Regions from separate parts of the Homo sapiens genome. Here region 2 is linked to region 1. Evidence: promoter capture Hi-C in human tissues and cell types (Jung and others, 2019). All regions are on one chromosome and are shown on one strand. Each heading gives the region's core, a stretch centred on a gene start or on the middle of the fragment in contact. The rest is flanking DNA. Distances are from core to core; before and after follow the strand shown. Region 1 holds the start of DOK5 (docking protein 5). Region 2 has its middle 130 kb from the start of DOK5.

The links. The method cuts DNA at HindIII sites, captures the fragments that hold promoters and counts their contacts. A contact is called where the count stands out against the background at its distance.
Region 2: a fragment that was not itself captured here is called in contact with the fragment with the promoter of DOK5 in region 1 in 1 of the 25 tissues and cell types used here (aorta).

Annotation. Positions count from the first base shown.
Region 1 is chr20:54,473,095-54,478,683 of GRCh38, reverse strand. It overlaps DOK5 (docking protein 5), which reads right to left and starts at 3,091. Exons shown (of 8, transcript NM_018431.5): 1 at 2,672-3,091. The coding sequence starts at 2,737. The HindIII fragment of the contact is 11,986 bases long and covers 1-5,589 here.
Region 2 is chr20:54,343,297-54,348,769 of GRCh38, reverse strand. No RefSeq gene overlaps it. Among named protein-coding and RNA genes, the nearest start is that of DOK5, 130 kb to the left of the region's middle. The HindIII fragment of the contact is 7,053 bases long and covers 1-5,473 here.

The sequences.
Region 1 (5,589 bases), core at 1,842-4,341:
ATGCGTTCCCTTCTCCTCTTTCTCCAAATCTGAAGAAGCATTTATTCCTTGGCACCAGGAACAGCTGCTTACCATGAAATGTTTTTGTATTTAATTATAAACCGTCCCAAACATGGTCTGGATTCCATTAATAAATGCTGTTGTATTAGTTCCTAAAGGTTATAAATGGCAAGACCATCCATGCACTATATAGTTCAGCACATATTTCAACATGAACTTACCAAGTGTCTACTCTGTGCTAGACAAAATAAATGCCCTACCTCTCTTTGAGACTGGCACATATTCCTAGAAGATACATGTCGCATGCTGTTCTAGACTATATGTAGCCTAGATTAATACCGCTAACATTCCTTACTGTGGACATAGGGTCCCCATGCCAATTCCGTACAGCATCCTTCACCAATATTTGCAGCCTCCATTAAAACTTTGGTTTGCACTGTGTTCTGGCAACTATGTAATCAGCCTCTTTTGTAAATCATACCATAAGAATATTTTAAAAATTAACTGGTGAGAAAACCAATGCTAACAAATAAGACCAGATTTACTTGATCATATTTTTGACCTTTTCTCTCCATGAGCAATAACCATAATTCAATAGATATTCTGAAGTCTGAACGTGAACACAGACAAAAAGAATAAATCTTGAGAAAGTATACTGCTCATTAGCATCCAAAATGCTGTAAAACATAAAACAAATACAAACTAAATATTTCTGTTCCTTCTGCTTCAAATATCTGTCCATAAATGTTGGCACACACATAGGGCTATGTTGTGTCAATTGTAATAATCTAGAAAAAATAATCTCAGTTACCACAAACAAGAAAGTGATGGTAACCAGTTTTTCAAATAAATTACCATGTGTCACAATTTGGCATAAACTCTGATCCTTATGAATAATTCATATTTTGTGCATTAATAATGCATGTCCTCTTCCCATTGGAATGCTCCCTAACACAGAATGGATGTCTCATACCAATTCCTTCCATTGACATGATGGAGTAAAGCTAAATTAGAATGCTGGGTTTTTTTTTTTTTTAACTTAACTCCCCTTAAAATTGTAACACTTGGCCAGCCTATAAGCATACCAAAAATAGAAAGTTCCCATTATTGTTTGCCCCTTACATGGGAGTCACTCAGTAAAGTACCCCCAACAATGGGTGCTCTTGAAGATGAGAATATTTGCATAGCAGAAAAGAAAACCAAGGAAACTTTGGCAGAGCTGATGGAAATGGTGAATTCTGTTACATTTCTCCCTAATTACATATGTATATATTCACAATAACACAGGACATAATCGCTAAAACATGGTCACCAGCAGGGGAGAAAAAGAAAAGAAAAAGACCAAAACGAATTAGGCAAGAGTTTTATAATAATTGCGGATGTTCCTCCCCACAGGGCTTCCCTCCCTAGCTGAGTTTACTACTGTGAAATTTCTTTTCAGTTTTCAGTAAAAGTATCTGGCACATTAAAACAGTCCAAAGACCAAGTAAGAGAAAGATGCCAAATGACACATATTTCTAAAGAAAGCTATTCAATTTACCACTCATTATCAATGGCGGCATTCCACACGATTACTGACATTATACTTATTTCAGGCATTACACCAAAGGATATTTTCTCCCCCCGCCCCCGCCACCTCTCCACCCCCACTTTTCACCCCTTATGTCCAAACGCACAGGATCAACTAAAACAGCGACAACACTTGATAGGAGGCAAAGAGAAATGAGGGACCTAGTTTGAAATTTTTAGGAAATAAAAAAATCGTTCCAGTATCTTCCCTCTCCCTCAAGAATTCTTCCACCATCATTCAGTCCCAAGGAGAGGAAGGGTAGGTTCTCTTTTGAAGCCTCCTCCAGCGAAGAGCCAAGAGAGAAAGGGGCGAAAGAGAGGGAGTTTTAAGGAAGGAGCTAGCCTGTGTCAACATCTGTCCCAAGTGCCCTAAGATTCATTCATTCTTCCTTTCAGGACATATGTAGGGAGCACTTGCGCTATGCCAGGTATCAGGTTCCACGTAAATAACCCTTCCGTGGACCTCCAGGGTGTATTCCAGCAACAGAAATCCACCACCCCGGCTTCGAACCACGGAAAATCCAGATTCAAGTATCTACCCAAGTTGGCCCCGACCAGAGGCCAGCCCGCACCGCCTTTGACACGACACCTGGGACAGAGGTGGGGGGATCCAAAGACACCTTACGCTTGGCAGAAATCTCTCCCTGGGGTCAGAGGGTTCGTGACCTCGTTCACACCGAGTATGCGTGTCCTCTTTCTCAACCAGCCGATCCATCCCCCGGAAAAGTTAAGTTGGCGGCGAGTGGGAAAAGAGGGGAACCGGGGGCATCCGGCAGGCACCCCCGCCCGGGCTTCTCAGCTCCAACTTCCATGGCTACCGAGAAATATTTATTTCGAGTAGATGGGCTCCAGGGGCTACTGAAGCCCAACACGCGGCCACCATCAGAAAGCCAAGTCATCCAAGAGATAAAGATAGATCCATTACATACCTAGACGCTGGCCTTACAGTGACAGCCCCGGAGACGCGGGTTTCGGCTGAGAAAGCCACCGCGCAATTCTCCGGCGCGCGGCCGGGGACTCTCCGTCCACCCTCCAGGGATGCTGGCTCAAGAGAGAGACAATCGAACCGGCGAACAGCAACACGGAGAGGATCGATACTCACCCCGAGGCGTCTGCTCCGGATCCTCACGTACCCTTGCTTCACTATGTCATTAAAATTGGAAGCCATCCCAGACAGCCGGTGACCCCCCCTTTACCCAAGAGCGCGCACCCGAAGTGGCTCTGGGGAGGGTGGAGGGCAGGGTCAAGACAAGCAGTCGGTGGGAGAAAGTTGGAGAGGTGAAGCTGCTTCGGCGGCGCTGGGCGAGGCTTTAGAAGGCGCACATCACTTTCTCTGTCCCCCCAACCCTGACAGTGGGCGGCCGGCTTGCAGCCACTTTCGGGGAGCGCAGAGCGCGGCGCGGGGAGGCGAGGCTGGAGCGCCGGCGTCAGCTGACTCCGCGGCCGGCCTGCCAGGAGGAGGAGCGGCGGCGGCTGAGGGATCCAGCCCTGCCTCCTCCCGGCCGAGAAGGAGGAGAAGAAGGAGGAGGAGGAGGAGGAAGGAGGAGGAGGAAAGAGGAGGAAGGGGTGGGGGGCTAAGAGGAGGAGCCGCGCGAGTCCCAGCACTGGGCTGCGGCCACCCGTGAGCAGCCGCCCTGGAACGCTCCCCGCGCCTCCCACCCACCTTTCCCTCCCCGCTTCCCCTTCCGATCCCTCCCCTCCTGGCGGACCCGGAGCGTGCCCCCGCCACCCCCGCACCTCGCCCACAGCCTACTGAGATAGCGCTCGCTCTCCTCGCTCCAATGACTTATTTTAGGAGGAGAGGAAATTTCACTTTTTTCCAGCCGCCGCCCACCCCGCCTCCCCCTTCAGCCCCTGCCCTTTCCCCGAGAAGGGCCGATTTTGCGTGTGTGTCTGGGGAGATGGTGTTGCCGCGGCTCGCCTTGACCTTGGCATCTGAGGAGAGGGATATTGTCACCGCTTAAGCCAAATGCTTCCTTGGGTTTCCTTGTGTCAGGGACCTAGCCCTCGCTGGTATCATTTGCCACAGTTTCCCTGTTTCAGCCTCTTTCCCGCCGGAATGTGTTTCCCAGGGGGCTGAGACTTGGCCTCATCACTGTCTGTCCCCAAAGCCTGACCCCAGAGCAAGTGCTCAGTAAATCCTTGTGGTTATCAAGATGGCCACCTAGGTGCCAGGCACTCTCCAAGCCTTTTGCATGGATTGACTCATTCAAACTCCCCTGCACTTTTTGAGGTAGGTGCCCTGTTAATGTATACACCAGGCCCATATTTAATTAAGCCTCCTTAGCCTGGCAATAGAGCTCTCATTGCCATTATGAGATACTGCCTATACAATAAGATGAAGAAGGGGACTGAATTTCACACTCACCTGCCCCTGACTGCATTACCTCCCTAAAGCATACTTGATTGATAATTGCTAACACACATTGAGCACCAGTGTGCTGGGCATTGTGCTAATCTTGTTAAGGGAATAATGAATTAGGCACCAGCATCCACATTTTACAGACTTGCTAAGGTCTCACAGCTGGCCACTATCAGAGCTAGGATTGAAGGGAGGTGTGTGTAGTGCCCAGCTCTGCTCCTAAACATTCTCCTATTCCTCTTCTGAAGAGAGGATCTCACAGAAAGAGAGGTTACTAGTTGATTTCCAAGGAAGATCTTTCTAATCATTTGCACTATTCACAAAGGCAAAGATAATCATCAGAAATTAGACAAAAATTCTTACTCACTGGGAAGCGACAAAGCTAAAGCTAGAGATCACTGCTCAGAGCCATTGAGAAGAGGATTCAGTTAGTAGTGGATTGTTTGACCTGATGACATCCACAGGTCTTTCAACTCTAAGACGATATGAATCTTCCCATTCTCACTGGGAACATTAGCTTTTAGTCACCTTGGCTTGATGAGTTTCAGTTAAAGAACAGAAACCTCCAAGAATGTGTCATAGGAGAACCGAGACTAAATGGGGACAATCAAAAAGGAGATATTCTGGCAGGGAGAACTATTTTTGCTACATAGTAAACCATCTGTCTTCATGTTGCCATTCTATGGAAAATGATGTTTTAATTTTAAATCTCTCACCAAAAGAGATGAAATGGTAAAATCATTTGGAGAGCTCCTTTTGAAGGATTGGAACTTAAAAAAAAAAATGCTGCCCATGGTTGCTGTAAAATAGAGGTGTTCATGGAAGGCATTTATCTAACACATCATTTATAGACCAAGTCCACAGTATTATAGAAACAAAAAATGAAGAAATTAAGGCATAAGGAGCTTGAAATGAAGGGCCCACAATAACGGAAATAATTACTGACAAAAACTGAAGGCGAGAAATCCATCCCTTGATAGTTAATGCTGACTATAATCAACATCCATAGATAATTTAACTGGAGCTGAGGAAACTAGAATCAAACCAGAAAATATCAAACTAGACGTGAAGGAACAAATGATTTCTTTTTTAAATTGCAAGACTGAATCCAATATATGGTTTTGTTTGGTGAAATCCAATTGACATACATGCAAAACGTACAGACTGTGATATACTATTCATAGGACATTTACACTTGTCCAAATTGTGCAATACAAGCCCTGGCAGCAAGAGCAAAGAGACTGGGCACAGTGGCTTACGCCTGTAATCCCTGTAATTTTTTGGGAGGCCGAGGTGGGTGGATCACCTGAGGTTGGGAGTTCGAGACCAGCCTGACCAACATGGAGAAACCCCGTTTCTACCAAAAATACAAAATTAGCTATGTGTGGTGGTGCGTGCCTGTAATCCCAGCTACCTGGAAGGCTGAAGCAGGAGAATCACTTGAACCTGGGAGGTGGAGGTGAGCCAAGATTGCACCATTGCACTTCAGCCTGGGCAACAAGATCGAAACTCTGTCTCAAAAAAAAAAAAAAAAAAAAAAAACATTAAAAAAAGAAAAAGAAATGGAAAAGAACCATTCACAGAGGTAGGCAATGTAAGGGGTGCTTATAGAGTTCTACAGTGCACAACTTGCCTAACCATATGCTGCCGAACAAATA
Region 2 (5,473 bases), core at 2,095-4,594, 130 kb after region 1:
TAGATCACACGCTTCTCAGATATCCACAACTCCCTCTCTTACCTCCTTCTGGTCTTTACTCAAAGGTCAATTTCCAAGAAGGCCTTTCCTGACAACTATATTTAAATTTGCTATATACTCTCTGAAAATATTCATTGCCTTCTAACAATTTAATATTACCTATTTTAACTTTCTTTCTTTTGAGACAAGGTCTCACTCTGTCACCCAGGATGGAGGGCAATGGCATGAACACTGCTCAGGGCAGCCTTGACCTTCTGGATTCAAGCAATCCTCCCACTGAAGCCTCCTGAGTTGCTGGGACCACAGGCATGCACCGTCATGCCCAGCTAATTTTTAAATTTTTTTGTAGAGATAGGGTCCCACTATGTTGTCTGGGCTGGTCTTGAACTCCTGGGCTCAAGCAATCCTCCCGCCTCAGCCTCCCAAAGTGTTGGGATTACAGGCATGAGTCACCACACCTGGCCTATTTTAATTCTTTATCCTGTTTATTGTCTATCTTTCTCAACAAGAATATAAGCCTCATGAGAGAAAGAAAAACAAATTTAAATGTTCACTTATAGCTAATTCCTCAAGGCCTTGAATATATAAGCACTCAAAAAATATGTGTAGATGAATAAATGAGTTACAAATAATGGTGAAATGTACATCCTTAACATTTATCCTACAATATTTGGGCAAAATGTGTAGAATAGATTATAAAAGGAATTATTAGTTCAAAAGGTAGATAGTTAAATGTTTATAGAATATTAAGGACCAATATCAGAGATATCAGAAATATTTTAAAAATTAAATATGAAAAACATTCTTGATAGTAGAACATTTAAAGAACAGTTGTTGGCCGGGCGTGGTGGCTCACGCCTATAATCCCAGCACTTTGGGAGGCCAAGGCGGGCGGATCACGAGGTCAAGAGATCGAGACCATCCTGGCCAACATGGTAAAACCCTGTTTCTACTAAAAATACAAAAAACTTGCTGGGCGTGGTGGCACGCACCTGGAGTCCCAGCTACTTGGAAGGCTGAGGCAGGAGAATTGCTTGAACCTAGGAGGCGGAGGTTGCAGTGAGCCGAGATCACGCCACTGCACTCCAGTCTGGCGATAGAAGAACAGTTGTTGGTAAGGGGCCCAAGCTGTACTCAGCCTCAGGCAACTGCATCAGAGAATGCAGTAGAATTCTTGCCATGGCTAAGACATTGACACATTTAACAGCCAGACTCATTCTGGTGTTTATTTCCCTCAATTTACTCATCAGCAGAGGAGTGAGCCAAAAAATAAACCAGAATAAAATCAAATGATTCTAAAATGTGTAAGCAATAACGGAAACAAAGGTCTCCATATCCTGAATCCAATGCTGTCACAGCTCAGTGGAGCTGTAATTTTTGACTATTAATCATTCACAGAAATTCCAATAGAAAGTCTTCATGGGTGTGGTAAGTGCCATGTTTATCAGCTCCTGTTTACATCTCAACCCTGTCAAGCTGCGAAAAAACACTCAACCCATCGAAGCATCCATTTCAAGCCAGACTCAGTGTCAAATCCAAGACTATGCAATTAAATATAATTAGGAGGAGCTCAACTCCAAGCCATTCCTACAATTCTGATGTCAATTGATTCAAATGCCATTGTATTTGTCATTGTAATTACATGATGAAACTTGCTTCATATCTGTGACCAAAGCACGCACATGCACACACACACACCATATATACATTCTACATGCTTTTCCTAACTTTGCTAGGCAGCCTATACATTTTTTTCTCTCTCAAGGCACCTTTCAGTGAATACTCAGAGGAAACTACAATAATTACATACAGGCAACGCGATTAGGGTAGAAGGGTTTCTAATGATTACCTGTCTTCTGCAAGAGTTAGCTCTTGGTGAAAAGATGAACACGTTTTGCTATTTTTCTGTGGGCAATTTTTCAAAGTTATATGTGCAATTTATGCTATTTGAGTATTTTAATGCACCCACTGGAAACTTGAGCACCCAAAGTTGACTCCATGACCAGAAACAAAATAAATGTGAAGCCAGCAAGAATGGAAGTGCAATAAACAGGGCAAAATCAGCTGAAAATGTGGATTACTGAAGATATAATATTAGGAGATTTTTCTTCATTCAGTAGTGAAGGGGTTAGAATATGTCACCCCAAAATATGCCACATTGGCGTAAGGACTATTTCAAGCAGAAAGCAATTGAGAAACAACAGATGCAAGAAACAAGCACTCTACCCTCCCCCATTGGCCTAAAATCAGGGCATAGATTTCCCTTTGTGAAAATGTTGCCACTTCCTCTTTCTCCTACCAGAAAGGGCACAGCAAGTGTTTAATCACCAGAGGAAACTCTAGACTATCAGCCTCCAGGGGAGTCTGCATAACAAACCTTCCTAAAATAACCCAGTCTTCCATTATTTTCCTCATATGTTTACCTTTCCACAATTTATCACCACTAGAAACTCAAATTTATTTTCTTTGTCTTGTCATTTCTCCACAATTTTTTTGGCCCTTTTGTTAAACTGGTATATACACCTCCAGGTCTGCCTACTTCTTTGGGTTTTAATTTCTATGAGGCCCTTCATATGCATATGAAATAAATCCTTTTTCCTGTTAACGTGTCTTTTAATGTTTAATTTCTAGGGTCCCAGCCACAGAACCTATGAGGGTTTTTCCTTTGCCTCTGCAACAGATAGTTGTTGTTCTGATACATGCCAGAAACTCTTCTAGGCACAAGGCTTGCCAAGTGAGTTCTGTGTTCAACCTGATTTGGCTACTCACCACTTGAGGGAACTTAGGCAACTTACTGAAGGACTTTTTGACACAGTTTGTTCATCTCTAAATGGTCTCATCTTTAACTATGAATACTTTCCTTGTACGGTTTTTGTGAGAATTCTTCTCATTATTAACTTACATTTATTAGAAGCATATGCATTGGTCACTGTGCTGAGTGCTTTGGAAGCTTTTTTTTTTAATTTTCACAACAATCCCGTGAAACTGACACTGTAACTATTCCTCTTTCACAGATTAAGACTTAAGATGCAGAAAAGCAAAATAAACCTCCAAGACTCATGCAGCTAGTAGGTGACAGGGCTAGGCGTGCACTCCATACCCTAAGTTCCTCCTCCTCTTGTTCTACTGCCATTATTTTGCACAGTGTCCATGCTTAATAATTAATAGCCCTCATTATTAGTATTAGTATTCTCTAGACTTTAAATTGCTTCTGCCTACCTCACAGGGTTGTTGATTTAACAGAAAACCTCGCGTAAGTGCAATGGATCTTTCCTATTTTTAGTGGCGTCTGGGTTAATTAGACTCTTAGTCACTAGTCAGTGTATTTGAGTTTTTGGAAATGACTCATCAAAAACATTTCTAAGCAGGATATTTGCTTGCAGCATTTTCATCAGACTGCAATTCTCTGCCCTGATCCTTCAGCCTGGCAAATGCATTCCAAGAAAAGTATCATATTCCAGGCTCCCTGAAATGAACCCAGTTCTCAACCAAAAAGAGCCACTTGCCTTAATCCCCTTTTAAACACTGAAAATAATTCATAAATAATGTATCTTCATATGTATTGGCTCTGATAGAATCTGAAATAAGTTACATATTTTTAAAATTAAAAAATCCCGAGCAAGGTTTTTCTCAATTCTGACACAATTGATCATTCCCTGTTGCAGGAGGCTGTCCTGTGCATTGCAGGTTGTTTAGCAGCATCTCTGGCCTCTACCCACTGGAAGCCACAGGCACAGCCCCCACCCCAGTGGTGACAACCAAAAATGTCTTCAGACATTAATGAATGTCCCCCCAGGGGGCAAACTTGCTTGCAGTTGAGAACCATTGATCAAGGGCAACATTTTGAAATAATTATTTTTAAGGCTTTCTATGAGATTTGGTATCAACTCTGCCCTGATGTTTCTATGTATTCTTGGTGGGGGACAATGACAACGTAATTGTAGTGCCACACTTTTATTTTGGACCCAGTATCTGCATATATAAATGTTTATATAGAATTTGTACTATTAACATCCTATCATGTACTACTCTACTTGAGAGTTATCCATTGAACCAATTGATGCACAGTCTTTAATCATAATATTTACTGAAAGTTTATTATATGCCAAGTACTATGCAAAGGTGTTTTATGTACCTTGTCTTAATCAATTTTTTTTGTGGTTTGTTAAATATTTTATTCTATTACATATAAAGCTGTGATTCACATGGAAATTATTTTGATAAAGAAATTATCAGGATTGAACTGAATTTTTTTTATTATACTTTAAGTTTTAGGGTACATGTGCACAATGTGCAGGTTTGTTACATATGTATACATGTGCCATGTTGGTGTGCTGCACCCAGTAACTCGTCATTTAGCATTAGGTATATCTCCAAATGCTATCACTCCCCCCTCCCCCGACCCCACAACAGGCCCCGGTGTGTGATGTTCCCCTTCCTGTGTCCATGTGTTCTCATTGTTTAATTCCCACCTATGAGTGAGAACATGTGGTGTTTGGTTTTTTGTCCTTGCGATAGTTTGCTGAGAATGACGGTTTCCAGCTTCATCCATGTCCCTACAAAGGACATGAACTAACCTGTTGTGGAGTGAAGATCATTGTCTCCCCATCTCTACAACGGAGCCAAAGTAGAGATAAGGAGAGGGAGGCTTAAATAGACTCAGTTAATTGCACAAAGCCTCACCAGTGGTAAAGGGCAAAGGCAGAGCTTAACCCTCAAGGCTTTCTAACCTCAAGGTTAGAGTATTAGCTACTAAGTATTAACTACAGTATTAACTACTAAGTTATATGGTACTTAGGGCATAACTTAGCCATGACATGTGACTCCAAAGATAAATAAGTGTTCATGGTTGAAGCAGCCTCTTTGAAAAACACCTACTTATTCCTTAAACAAGTAGTTAACAAATACTTAATTGTGTGGCAACAGTTATCCTAGATGCTGGAAGTACCAAGGTGGGCAGTGCAGAGAGGAACTCACACCATACAAAATCTTCCTGGTACAGAATCTGACTCACTATCCACTACATTGTCTACCTTGTGCCTGAACTTTTCTCAGTTTGGCAAAGGTCCGGTTATTCCCATAAGGACAAAGACATAACTATATCTCTCTTTAAAGGCTCTGAAAAGTCCTGCAATTAAGATAGTAGTTCGATGTTGGTTTCTCAATCTGCAAATGTGGATATTATCGTTTGGTATGAGTGTGCAAGAGGCTGAAGAAAATCTTAAAACACAAGCTTTGAGTAACCGGTTTGACTACGCTCCACAAGGTTTTTTCTTTCTGCTCAATTTCCAACTTCCACTTTGCATGCAACCATCACTGCACTTCTAAATGTTGATGGATGTACAGAACATTCTTTGCCAGAGACCCACTTGGGCACAGAAGTCTGGAGCAAACTAGAATATTTTATACACACACACAAAAATAAGACCTCATTCTTTCACAGGCAAAACTCCTCTGACGTCAATAGTAGGCT